2 separate regions of the Homo sapiens genome follow, and region 1 is linked to region 2. Evidence: promoter capture Hi-C in 16 types of primary human blood cells and fetal thymus (Javierre and others, 2016). All regions are on one chromosome and are shown on one strand. Each heading gives the region's core, a stretch centred on a gene start or on the middle of the fragment in contact. The rest is flanking DNA. Distances are from core to core; before and after follow the strand shown. Region 1 overlaps LOC124904210 (a long non-coding RNA gene). Region 2 holds the start of CLCA2 (chloride channel accessory 2).

The links. The method cuts DNA at HindIII sites, captures the fragments that hold promoters and counts their contacts. A CHiCAGO score of 5 or more calls a contact.
Region 1: a fragment that was not itself captured here is called in contact with the fragment with the promoter of CLCA2 in region 2 in 1 of 17 cell types (naive CD4 T cells); the score reaches 6.0 in naive CD4 T cells.

Annotation. Positions count from the first base shown.
Region 1 is chr1:86,508,174-86,515,033 of GRCh38, forward strand. The region is part of intron 1 of LOC124904210 (a long non-coding RNA gene); the gene reads right to left. Among named protein-coding and RNA genes, the nearest start is that of CLCA4, 35 kb to the right of the region's middle. RefSeq lists an enhancer at 1-115. The HindIII fragment of the contact is 6,719 bases long and covers 777-6,860 here.
Region 2 is chr1:86,419,774-86,426,672 of GRCh38, forward strand. It overlaps CLCA2 (chloride channel accessory 2), which reads left to right and starts at 4,398. Exons shown (of 14, transcript NM_006536.7): 1 at 4,398-4,660; 2 at 5,566-5,703. The coding sequence starts at 4,475. The HindIII fragment of the contact is 7,161 bases long and covers 1-5,301 here.

The DNA of each region.
Region 1 (6,860 bases), core at 2,886-5,385, 88 kb after region 2:
CCTCAAGAGGCCATCTAGTGGATGTTTGTAGTTTAACAAGCCCTTTCAATAAATACTTGGCGGATGGATTCTGGGGTGACACTCTCTCTCAGAAGGGTGGTCCCCCGCTCCGCTCAGCTAGAATCGTCTGAGAACTCATTCTTGGCGTTCACTGCAAGCTATAAGCTCTGCAAGGGTCAGTTTGGAGTCCTTTTCTAAATGTTACAAAACCAAACCAAGCACTTAGCTGATGAGAAGGCCACTTTGTGACAAATGAGACTGAGGTCCCAACTTCGTAGAACATGGTTACCATGGATTTCGCCTGGAAATTTTTCAATAAGTCACTCACTGAGATTTTAATTTCCCATTTGGGTGAACTCAGTAAAATGTAGCATGGGATATGGTAGTAAACCAGAGATGCATACCATGTGACTTTGGAGAAGAAGAGGTAAATGTTAACATATAGATAAGATAGAAAGTAGAGAACAACAAAGAAAAAACATTCTTATGTACTCTGGGTTATAGGAAAGTTTATTGCGAAATGGATCTGTATTGTCATAGGTGATAAAATAAGCCAAATTTTTGCCTTATGCCATCATTGACCCACAATGGCCTTAGCCTCTGATAAGTCAATTAAGTGAGTGAGTAAATCTGGTAAATCTGTTCCAGATGTTGGTACTTCTCTTAATATCCAAGTATCCAGCATCAAAAGAGCGTAGGGAGAAATATTCTCCAAGCTCCCCTTTGCAACTTCCAAGCTAGGCTGTTACCCCTATGATCTAATGTGGTTTGTTTAAAGCTTCCATCCTATGTCATTGATCTATGCTGTTTTTTAATCCCTTCTCTTCACTGTTATCTACCACACTCACCCAAGTTAGGCACAACACTCTTCCCCCCTCACCTCTTAAAATCACTCTGAGTGGTCTCAGAATCTATATGAATGAGTCAGTTCATATCTCAGCCTCAAAATTCCTTGATCGTCACCCCACCTCCACTAAAATTGAACAAACTATTGGTTTGAATAATAAAAGTGTATTTTTATAAGTAAAAAATTCGAATATTGGCAATTGCATATGGTTTGAGCAAGTCTTGCTAAGGCCACATTTTGACCTAGTAATGACCTGAAACAACCGCACCTGTGAAATCTTAAAATCCAGTATCCTATTCTGGACACAACCTCCTAACCCTCTGTGCTGTTCACTTCCTATCCCACTGAACTGACGTTGTAATTTCATGATGACTCCCATCACTTGATTGTTTCTTTTTACCTGGTCCATTATCTTTTTCTTTATATGGCCCCTATATGCCTTGGGATGTCACTTCAAGTCCTCCTTTGACAATTCCTTCAACTTCCACCTCTTAAGACACCTGCCCTGAAATCCTTTAGCTTTGCATTAAGCATGTTGTCTGTGTGCTTGAGACATTCATTTATCTATTCAGCAAATACTTTTAAAGTACCCACATTGTATCCCAAGTCCCATGTTAGACACTAAGATTACAATGGGTAATGAGCTACATGGTTTCTGCCAACTAAAGTACTATCAAGCGAACAGGCACTTAACAATGCGCAGATCTATAAGGAGCTTAAATTTACAAGACAAAAACAACCCCATTAAAAAGAGGGCAAAGAACATAAACAGACACTTCTCAAAAGAAGACATACATGCAGCCAACAAGCACATGAAAAAATGTCCAACATCACTAATTATTAGAGAAACGTAAATCAAAACCACAATGAGATACCACCTCACACCAGTCAGAATGGCTATTTTTAAAAAGTCAAAAAATAACAGACGCTGGCAAAGTTGCAGAGGAAAGGGGACACTTATATGCTGTTGGTGGGAGTGTAAATTAGTTCAACCATTGTGGAAAGCAGTATGGTGATTCCTCAAAGAGCTAAAAGCAGAACTACATTTGACCCAGCAAACCCATTACTGGGTATTTACTCAGAGAAATAGAAATCATTCTATCATAGAGACACACGCATATGAATGTTAACTGCATCACTAATCACAATACCAAAGACATGGAATCCACATAAATTCCCATCAATTATAGATTGGATAAAGAAAATGTGGTGCATATACACCATGGAATACTATGCAGCCATAAAAAAGAACAAGATCCTGTCTTTTGTGGGAACATGGATGGAGTTGGAGGCTATTATCCTTAGCAAACTAATGCAGGAACAGAAAACCAAAGACCACATGTTCTCACTTATAAGTGGGAGCTAAATGATGAGAACTCATGAACATAAAGTAGAGAACAACAAACACTGTGGTCTACTTGAGGATGGAGGGTGGGAGGAGGGAGAGGAGAAGAAAAAATAACTATTGTCCTCTGATCTTTATACCTGGGTGATGAAATAATCTGTACAACAAACCCTCATGACACAAGTTTACCTATGTAATAAACCTTCACATGTACCCCCAAACCTAAAATAAAAGTTAAAAACAAACAAACAAAGCAATGCACAGTATGTAGGGTCTATTTCAGGGGAAGCACATATTATAGGAACTCATGCTTTGCATACCTAATCCACATGTGGTATCTGCCAGAGAAAGTGATCCTTTTACTTTCATGATGTCTGGGTATATGTATAAAATAAGAAGAGAAGAGAAAAGCAAGAGAAAGAAATGAAGCAAAATAACCCTAATCGAACCTCTGTTTCTCCAAATATTACTACATCTCGGAATTAGTCATGCTGGGCAAAATCTGCTTCCAGGTATACTCTGGAATTCCTCTAGGGATTGAATTATTTTTTAATTAATTTTTTGTTGGATATTGGCAAGTTATAATTGTATATATTTTATGAGGTACAAAATGATTCTTTCATATATATATATATATATATATATATATATATATGTACACACAATATGGAATGATTGAATCCAGTTAATTAAGAAATCCGTCACTTCAAATTCTTATCATTTATGCCTCCTGTCTGGCTGAAACATTATATACTTTGACCAACATCTCCCCATTCCCCTAACTCTCCAGCCTCTGTTAATACCCATTCTACTCTCTGCTTCTATGTATTCAATTTTTTTAGCTTCCACGTATAAGTGAGAACATATGGCATTTGTCTTTTGTATCTGGCTTATTTCACTTAGAAAAATGTCCTTCTGGTTCATCCATGTCACAACATAATCTATTTTTTTAAGGCTGAATAGTATTCTATTGTGTGAATATATAGATAGATACATAGGGTGTGTGTGTGTGTGTGTGTGTGTGTGTGTGTGTGTGTGTATTATATATATATATATAATATATACACCTGTATATGTATGCATATACAGATACACATACATTCATCCAAACAGATGGATAAAGAAAATGTTCTATATATGGATGGACACTAAGATTGATTCCATAACTTGGCTATTGTGACTGATGCTGTAATGAACATGGAAGTACAAATATTTCTTCAACATAGTGATTTTAAAACTTTTGGATATATACCCAGAAGAGGATTTGTGGATTATATGATAATTTAGTCTTTTGAGAGACCTCTATACTGTTTTCCCTAATGGCTGTCTTAGCTTACATTCCCACCAACAGTATACTAGGTTCCCTATTCTCTACATCCTTGCCAACAACTATTTTTTGTCTTTATTATAATTGCCATTCTGATAGGTGTTAAGTTATATCTCACTGTGGTTTTAATTTGCATTTCCCCAGTAATTAGTGACGTTGAACATTTTTTTCATGTATTATTGACTATTTGTATGTCTTCTGTGTTGCTCCGGCTCATTTATCAACTGACCCAAAAGACTGCCAGTTTTGAGGGGGGTCCAGAACAGAAGGCTCTGCAACAAATCCAGGCTGCTGTGCAAGCTGCTCTGCCACTTGGGCCATATGACCCAGCAAATCCAATGGTGCTTGAGGTGTCAGTGGCAGATAGGGATACTGTTTGGAGCCTTTGGCAGGTCCCCATAGGTGAATCACAGCTAGGATTTTGGAGCAAGGCCCTGCCATCTTCTGCAGATAACTACTCTCCTTTTGAGAGACAGCTCTTGGCCTGTTACTGGGCTTTGGTGGAAACTGAATATTTGACTATGGGTCATGAAGTCACCATGCTCCCTGAACTGCCTATCATGACCTGGGTGCTTTCTGATCCATCTAGTTATAAAGTGGGGTGTGCACAGCAGCATTCCATCATCAAATGGAAGTGGTATATAATGTGATCTGGCTCAAGCAGGTCCTGAAGGCACAAGTAAGTTACATGAGGAAGTGGCTCAAATGCCCATGGTCTCTGCTCCTGCCACCCTGCCTTCTCTTCTTCAGCCTGCACCAATGGCCTCATGGGGAGTTCCCTATGGTCAACTTACAGAGGAAGAGAAGACTAGGGCCTGGTTCACAGATGGTTCTGCAAGATACACAGAAACCACCCGAAAGTGGACAGCTGTAGCAATACAGCCCCTCTCTAGGACATCCTTGAAAGACAGCAATGAAGGGAAATCTTCCCAGTAGGCAGAACTTCCAGCAGTGCACCTGGCTGTGCACTTTGCATGAAATTAGAAATGGCCAGATGTGCAATTATATACTGATTCATGGGCTGTAGCCAATGGTTTGGCTGGATGGTCAGGGACTTGGAAGAAGCATGATTGGAAAATTGGTGACAAAGAAATTTGGGGAAGAGGCATGTGGATGGAGCTCTCTGAGTGGTCAAAAACTGTGAAGGTATTTGTATCCCATGTGAGTGCTCACCAACGGGTGACCTCTGCAGAGGAGGATTTTAATAATCAAGTGGACCCGGTGACCCATTCTGTGGACACCACTCAGCCTCTTTCCCCAGCCACCTCTGTCATCGCCCAATGGATCCATGAACAAAGTGGCCATGGTGGCAGGGATGGAGGTTACTCATGGGCTCAGCAACATGGACTTCCATTCACCAAGGCTGACCTGGCTATGGCCACTGCTGAGTGCCCAATTTGTCAGCAGAAGAGACCCACACTGAGCCCTCCATATGGCACCATTCCTTGGGGTGATCAGCCAGCTACCTGGTGGCAGATTGATTATATTGGACCTCTTTTATCATGGAAAGAGCAGAGGTTTTTCCTCACTGGATAGAATAAGTGTCTATCCGGAATAGACACTTACTCTGGATATGGGTTTGCCTATCCTACACAAACGGCTTTTGCCAAGACTACATCCGTGGACTCACAGAATGCCTTATTTACCATCATGGATTCCATACAGCATTGCCTCTGATGAAGGCACTCATTTTATGGCCAAAGAAGTGTGGCAGTGGGCTCATGCTCATGAAATTCACTGGTCTTACCATGTTCCCCAACATTCTGAAGCAGCTGGATTGATAGAACGGTGCAATGGCCTTTTGAAGTCACAATTACAAAGCCAACTAGGTGACAATATTTTGCAGGGCTGAGGCACAGTTCTCCAGAAGGCCATGGACGTTCTGAATCAGCGTCCAGTATATGGTACTGTTTCTCCCATAGCCAGGATTCATGGGTCCAGGAATCAAGGGGTGGAAGTAGAAGTAGCACCACTCACCATCACCCCTAGTGATTCACTAGCAAAATTTTTGCTTCCTTGTCCCATGACATTATGTTCTGCTTGCCTGGAGGTCTTAGTTCCAGAGGGAGGAATGCTGCCACCAGGAGACACAACGATCCATTATACTGGAAGTTAAGATTGCCACCTGGACACTTTGGGCTTCTCCTCCCTTTAAGTCAACAGGCTAAGAATGGAATTACAGTGTTGGCTGGGGTGATTGACCCGGACTATCAAGATGAAATTAGTCTACTACTCCACAATGGAGGTAAGGAAGAATATGAATGGAATACAGGAGATCCATTAGGGTGTCTCTTAGTATTACCATGCCCTGTGATTAAGGTAATGGGAAACTACAACAGCCCAATCCAGGCAGGACTACGAATGATCCAGGCCCTTCAGGAATGAAGGGTTGGGTCACTCCAACAGGGAAAAAACATGGCCGCCTGAGGTGCTTGCTGAAGGCAAATGGGATACAAAATGGGTAGTAGAACAAGGTAGTCATTGGTATCAGCTACCACGACAGGACCAGCTGTAGAAACGAGGACTGTAATTGTCATGAGTATTTCCTCCTTCTTTTGTTAAAAACATGTTTGTACATGTACACACTTGTACCAAGAAAATATCTTCATTTTTTTTCCTTTCTCCTTTATCATGTGACATAAGATTTATTGACTTCACATTAGCATTTAAGTATCGTTAACTTTATGTATTTGGGTTGGGGACTGGTGCATTTTGGTTGTATGAAGGATAGTTGTATTATGTTAAGCGTAATTATGACCTTATTATTGTCTTTATTTGAAGATTATGTGTGATCTTAGGAGATGTGTATGGCTTCAAGTTGACAAGGGATGGCTAATACTGAGAGTCAACTTGATTCAGTTGAAGGATACAAAGTATTGATCCTGGGTGTGCCCTTGAGGGTGTTGCCAAAGGGGATTAACATTTGAGTCAGTGGGCTGGGAAAGGCAGACCCACCCTAAATCTGGGTGGGCACAATCTAATCAGCTGCCAGTGCAGCTAGAATATAAGCAGGCAGAAAAATGTAAAAAGAAAGACTGGCCTAGCCTCCCAGCCTACATCTTTCTCCCGTGCTGGATGCTTCCTGCCCTTGAACATCAGACTCAAAGTTCTTCAGTTTTGGAAATCAGACTGGCTCTCCTTGCTACTCAGACTGCAGATGGCCTATTGTGGGACCTTGTGATCATGTGAGTTAACATTTTAAAAAATCCCCTTTATATATTCCATTAATTCTGTCCCTCTAGAGAACCCTGACTAATACATCCTCTTTTGAGAAATGTCTGTTTAGGCCGTTTGCTTATTTTTTAATCAGGTCGTTTTCTTGTTATTGAGTTGTTTGAGTT
Region 2 (6,899 bases), core at 3,148-5,647:
TATTTTTCATCTCTTTAATAAATTGCCTACACTTCTGCTTTCTCTTTTTTTTTTCTCTCAAAAGTAACAGTAGTAATAATGATAATATCTTATATCCACATGATGCTATATACTCTCTGGTATATAGTAGATATAACAGTCTTTTACGAAAGGCAAGTTTAGGCTGTTTTGCAAATGATAAATGTTCCATACACTTTCTCCCATTTTTAATTGGGTTATCATTAAAAGTATTTCTTGTTTTTCATTCATTTTGGCAAATTTTGGAGGGTTTCGGTGTGTTTGTGTGCACACAGGATAATTTGTTGAGTTATTGCCAAAGTGAATTGAATGAGGAAAGTGAGGAAAAATACTACCATTAAGTAGATCAACCCCCTTATTTTGAAGGTGACAAAACCAAGCCACAAGAGTTTAGGTGATGTGACTTGGATCCTATAGCAAGTGAATAAAACCAGTATCTCCCATTCTTTACATTCCACAGTACACTCTACTGATATGCATGGAATAAATTTTAGAGAACCTGTGAGCTAAATCTTAACCTTGTGTCCAAGACAGATCTCACCTAAATGGTCCTTTAAGAAGATAACTACTCTTACTATTCTTTAATTTCCACAGAAGCAGAATTTATAAGTTCCTGTGACTCATGAGATACAGTATGATTAAGAAGGGCTTTGAAAAGTGCAAAGCACCATACAAACATGAGAGATTGTTTCTAATAATGACCGGTGCCCATAAGCCTTTATTGCCGAGAGTGTCTTTACAATATCCAAACTCAGTGCCTCCTTCTGCAATGTGAGACAGTCTCTGTTTTGTTCAACTTTGGAATCTTTTCACCATCAGGTTCTCAAGCAGCTATCTCTGAAACCAACTGGCTTATCCTGACATGCTCAATTCTGAGTTTATGTTTCATTGTGTTTCACCTTTGCGCTTGATCTCCATGCTTTGACATGGTGGTGATTTGACAATACAAATGGCTTCCCAGACCCTATCTGGACCATCCACTTTGTTCCTTTGCTTTGAAAATGAGTCTAAATTTGAAGGAAATTGGATAAAGGAGGTAGGAAATGTACCATCTGGGCCCTTGGCAAACTGTGTTTTGTTTAAATTCTTAGTCTTGACAATTTGTCTCTCTTCTTTTCTGATTTATTTCACAGGGATTACATAAACTAACGTGGCCCATGAGCTGTGTAGCCCAACCGTACAGTGTACTACACTTTCCTCTTCTAAATGGGATTGTTGAAACCAAAGCCTGAGAGGAACTAATCCAAAATTTTCTTTGATTTCCCCAAAATGTCAAATCTCCTGACTTCTCTGACACCAATTGGATGTTTTATTCACTTAGACTGTGGGTCTATACCAGCTGACTCCATGAAAAAAATAGACAGGCCCTTCTGGGGCCAGGTTGAACTACAGAGTCAGACAATGAACAAAGATGTGCTTTAGATTCTTCAGTTACTGAAATTGAATAACTCTTATTTTCTTGAAAGCAGAATAAAAGCAAAGCAGATTCCTAGAGTTTATATAACATTGAAATAAACACTTAAAAACTGTATTCCTCCTTTCTTTTCCTTTAGGTATATTTCCTTTCTCAGATATTATAAAATCTAAAATCTATGGCTATGACCAGTTAATTTTTGTTTAATGAAAGGATAAAAAGTTCACTTTATTGACGAAGTCACACTTCACAAAAAGATGCTGTGCTCAGTATAATTTCTAATTCCTTTACTCAATTTCATTTTCTCCACCTTTTCAGGCTGTAAGGTCAGCCTGATGAAAGAAGAAGGCAGTAAAAAGAGACCTTCAGCTGGCCCGGTCCCAGGCCTGGTTGCTGATAACAAAAAGGGCTCTGAATTAGACGTTTAAAAAAAATCAGATAGATAAGAGTAGATATCATGCCTAGACTCTCAACCCGGGCTAAGCAAAGCCTGAGTGAGCTTGTTCAGGTTTCAACCCAAGTGAAGCTGGACAAAATTGTTCATTTGTAGCTGTTCTTTATAAAGTTGCATGCACTCTCTAGCCAATATTTTCCACCCTCACATCCCAAGGGAACCATAGTAATGATAAAAACAAGTGGAGAGAGTGCTGAATATCAGTCCTCAATCACTCCCTCCCATAGCAAACAACCTATACAAGTGTCATGAAAAACTTCCCTGAGTGTTGGCAAAAAGCCGCTCTTGCAGTGTGCTTACGAGTTTAGTTTTTGAGCATATTGGTTTATCGATGGGAATATTTGTATTCTTAAAATCACAAGAGGTTGGCATAAGAAAATAAACTGCCAGGGATATTTGAAATGAAGTGCATTGTTCTGCTCAATGAGTCACATTTACAGACAGAGCCTTTGGAGCTGCCACACCTCTGGCCTTCTACTCTGAAGACACAGTGAACAAGCAGAAAAAAACTAGGGCTGGGAATTCAGTTTGGGAGAAAAGGCAGCTAAGCTGACCTTTGAACTTTAGGGTAAGACCCTTGGGCAGCCACGTAATGACCAGCGCCATCCCATTCTTCAAGGAGAGCACCATACTCAAGCACTGCCTGTCAAGAGGGAGCAAGAGGGAAACTGCTCTAGAACAGAGGAGATGCCTTCTAGAAAACAAGGGTGGGGGAAAGAATTTTTACACTATAACCCGGGGCTCCTTCACTATCTTGTTTTATTTACTTCTCCTGACTCCATTCATTCAGTCATTCAACAGAGAGTTTACTGAGATAGGTGCTGGGGAAGTACTGAATGAAAACAGACTCCATCCCTTCCTTCATACAGCAGGAAGCTGACAATCAATTATACAATATAAATTTGACATTGTTACCATGATCATACTGCAAAGGTGAGTTATCTGATGCTATGGAAGCATGAAAGAAGGGAATTTGACTTAGTTATGGAGCTCAGGCCAGGCTTCCAGGACACAGCTGGAATTTGAAGGAAAAGCAGGTGAGAAGAAGCATGAGAAAATGATTCAAGCAAGACAGCAAGGGGAAAAAAATTCCCTCAACATCTGTCAACATTGCAGTGCAATATCAAAGCCCAAGTTCAGAAGACTCCAACCTTGCTGGGAAGAAGAGTGACATCACACTGCCCATGAAGATGTTGAAAACAGACAATGTTGGTGAAATCCCTGTTGAGAGCAGGGACAGACCGTTTCCTAAATGCTACACTCCCCTCCCCAGAAATGTTCCGAGACGGGGCCACAGCAGGGAAGAGTCACAGGTTTTGCTTGCTGTGGACCTCTGACGCTGTGAATAAAACTTTTTCTTTAGTTTTACAATAGATGTCACTGTGCGGCATTCTTAAACACAAAGAAGAGGGAGAAACGAGGTTACTAAGATAATTTAGTAACTAAGAGAGAACATGATATATTGAAAAACAGTGGAATTTGGAGTCAGTTGGTTCATTCTAGTACGATGATAATACTCCCAACCTTGAACAAGTTACTTAGATTTTTTTGAACATTAGTTCTGTCACCCATAAAATAGGCATAATAAAATCCATCACTCAAAAAATGTTAGTTTCTTCTCTCATTGGCTAATTTTCATAATCAGAATTTCCAAGACTCATTATTTTCATTTGAAAAGTACAAATTATACCTGCATCAGAGTATTGATATTTAAATGAGTTCATTTGTAAACTTTAAAGCATGAGGTAAATATCAGGTATTATGAATCAGTCATAAAATATTTGCGATGGTTACTATATATTAGATCCTGTTTTTGGTCCTGGAGAAATGGAGGGTTGACTGAAGCAGGGCCTTGCCCTTAGGAGAGAGCTGAAGGAGAAATCTATTCTTCTTCCTGAGGCAGAGAGAAAAGGTAGCAAGGCCAGAGGGAAAGGGCTGCACAGGCACCCAAGTTCCTGGCAGTTGGCCCTCTCTGGGGGATATCTGATATCTGACCTCCAGCCATCAGCTGAGAGCTTGCCCAGACTATCTGACCCAAGGGCTGTAGGGACTGGGCTGCAGAATGGATTTCTAAATCTTCAAAATAAACAGGCAAGGAAATCTTGCAACAAATGAAAAATGACTTGAGGGCAGTAGAAAGTACTTGTGCCAACTGATGGAGGAGGTTATGAAAAATGAGGAGAGGAAAATCACTATAGACTTCTGTGTTTCTACTGCAAGTGGATTGAACAGTCCAGATATACTGATTTCCAGCCCATATTTCCTGCTTTTAAGCTCCTTTGGTCTTATTTCCCTCTTCTTTCTGAAAAGTTATAAAATGAATGAAGGGCAGAATGTTTCTTGCCCAACCATGATTCAGGAGGCAGCTCAGCCACAGAACAGGCAAGTGTAGCATTGCCTGGAGGAAAAGGACTTGTAGAGGCAGGTCCCAGATGGATCCACCCCAGACTTTTCAAAGAAGACACCTCCTTCATCTTGTGTTCTAAAACCTTGCAAGTTCAGGAAGAAACCATCTGCATCCATATTGAAAACCTGACACAATGTATGCAGCAGGCTCAGTGTGAGTGAACTGGAGGCTTCTCTACAACATGACCCAAAGGAGCATTGCAGGTCCTATTTGCAACCTGAAGTTTGTGACTCTCCTGGTTGCCTTAAGTTCAGAACTCCCATTCCTGGGAGCTGGAGTACAGCTTCAAGACAATGGGTATAATGGATTGCTCATTGCAATTAATCCTCAGGTACCTGAGAATCAGAACCTCATCTCAAACATTAAGGTGAGTGGAAATTATGAAATTGATACTAGCATCCCATTTGATCAGACCTGTAGCCTTATTTAGAAGCTAACTACCCTGCCTGGTTTGTATTTGAGTAATACAGAGAACAGCATTTTTAAAAGATAGCGCCACAACGTTATGATTATGGCTAACTAAGCCAGTTTGTTCATCTAATTCTGTGTAGTCTCAGCTCACAGAGTGTTGATCTAGCCCTCTATTTTGTTATTGTTGGTTGCTACTAATTTCAGCTCTTTTGTTTTCCTACATGACTGTTTTTGGGGTAGCAACTTAGAAAAATAACAACCCATTGTGGCAACAAAGATTGAATATTTAACTGATGAATAAGCATGATAATGAGCATGCTTGTTAAAATCATATTGCTAGATTCCATCCTGAGGGTGAGAATTCTCAGGCAGAAAGGGTGAGAGTCTGCACGGTGGGCCAAAAAGCAAAATTATTTCTTTTCACTTGAATGTGCTGTAACATAATTGACTATTTTTACTTTAATATGGCAAGGGAGGATCATAGCTCTATGATGTAAGAGCCTCCATTTAGTATTGCTTTAGTGAAATCAGTAGCATCATAAGGTGTGGTCTTGAATGTGCCCACAGGTGTGACATGAAAAGGATTTGTTCCACAAAAGCTTAAAAGCCTTTCTCAAAATTGGGAAAACTATGAAGGCAAGCACAGACATATAATTAGTGTCCTAAAATCTTCCATATAATCATTTAAAGTTTTTTTAAAAATTTGCTCCTATGTTTTCCCAAAGTCTAGGGCTTTCTCTAAAAGAAATGGGTCTCTTCAAAATATTTCATTGTCTTTTATTACTGTTTAAGCATACCAGAAAACCAAAACATACAGGATTTACAAGTGGTAAAGTAAGTTTTTCTTTTGTCTGGCTGTAGGAAATGATAACTGAAGCTTCATTTTACCTATTTAATGCTACCAAGAGAAGAGTATTTTTCAGAAATATAAAGATTTTAATACCTGCCACATGGAAAGCTAATAATAACAGCAAAATAAAACAAGAATCATATGAAAAGGTAAGAATCCAGGATTTCATTCAATGATCTCAAGGGGAAAAAAAACACCAAAATATACTGTGCTCAAACGATAAAAGTGAGAAGTTAAGTAAAAACAAATCATCAGTATTAACAATGCAAATAATATTAATGGGCAGAATGTTATCAACAAAATATATGAGAATAAATGAATGCAAATTGTGCAGTAAAAAATGAGTCAAATGCCATAGCCTAAGTAGTTTCTCAGAAGATCTCTTTATTTTGTAACTTATGGAGTACTTTCTGAAAAGTTTGGTTGAGGATCAAGAACTAGTTTTATCCTACTGAGGATGAGCTGCAAAGGGAACAGTTCCAATTATGACTATACCCATTTACCATCCTGTCAGGAGCAATAAACATGCATGTCCAGACAGAAATATAAACCACCATGCATATAAAAATATGACTGCCATCTTATGCCATGGTGTAGATTATCAGAATTTCACATTAGCTCAAGTCCAGAATATTGTTTTAGGGGAATAAGGAGATTAGAAGGAAGGGAGGAAGGATGTGGGGATGTGGATGAGTAGGGGAATGGCTACCTTTTTTTTTCCACCTATAGAGGAACTTCACCTTGAAAGGCTCTCATAAGTTGCAGATCATGATTAAGCACCCATGATGATGTCTGGTACATACTAGTGTGCACACTATAAATAAATGATAAATAATATAAATGGTAAATCACTGTTTGAAGTCAACTGTGAACAAGAGTCCATTGCAGCTACCAGAAGGGCCAGAAGTAGAGGCATTGGCAACTTATCTCAGGGTTTCAGCAATGGAGTGGGTTTGAGATTGTAACTACATCTCTAACAGAATGACTCAAACATGTGGTACAGCTTTCCCCTTTCCTTATTTCTGACCCTCAGTATGAAATTTCCTAAGTCTGTTTCATTCTTAGCTCTCCTTCAAAGCTACTCTGTCAGAAATTGAATGGTATAGCAATCCAGATAGGTACCCCAATGTCCTGAAGAAGTTAAAGAGCCTGTGAAAAGCATTTGACCTATGACCAGATGAAAGCATTTGAGAATGCTTGCACATGAAGATAGGATAGGTGGGGGAACTGGGGTAAGCTGGGAAGAGTTAGTGTTTAAGCTCCAACTAAGTGCCAGGCATTTTACATATATTATTTAATTCTCACATAACTTAAAATTAGTTTCTGTGATCACAAATTAAAACAC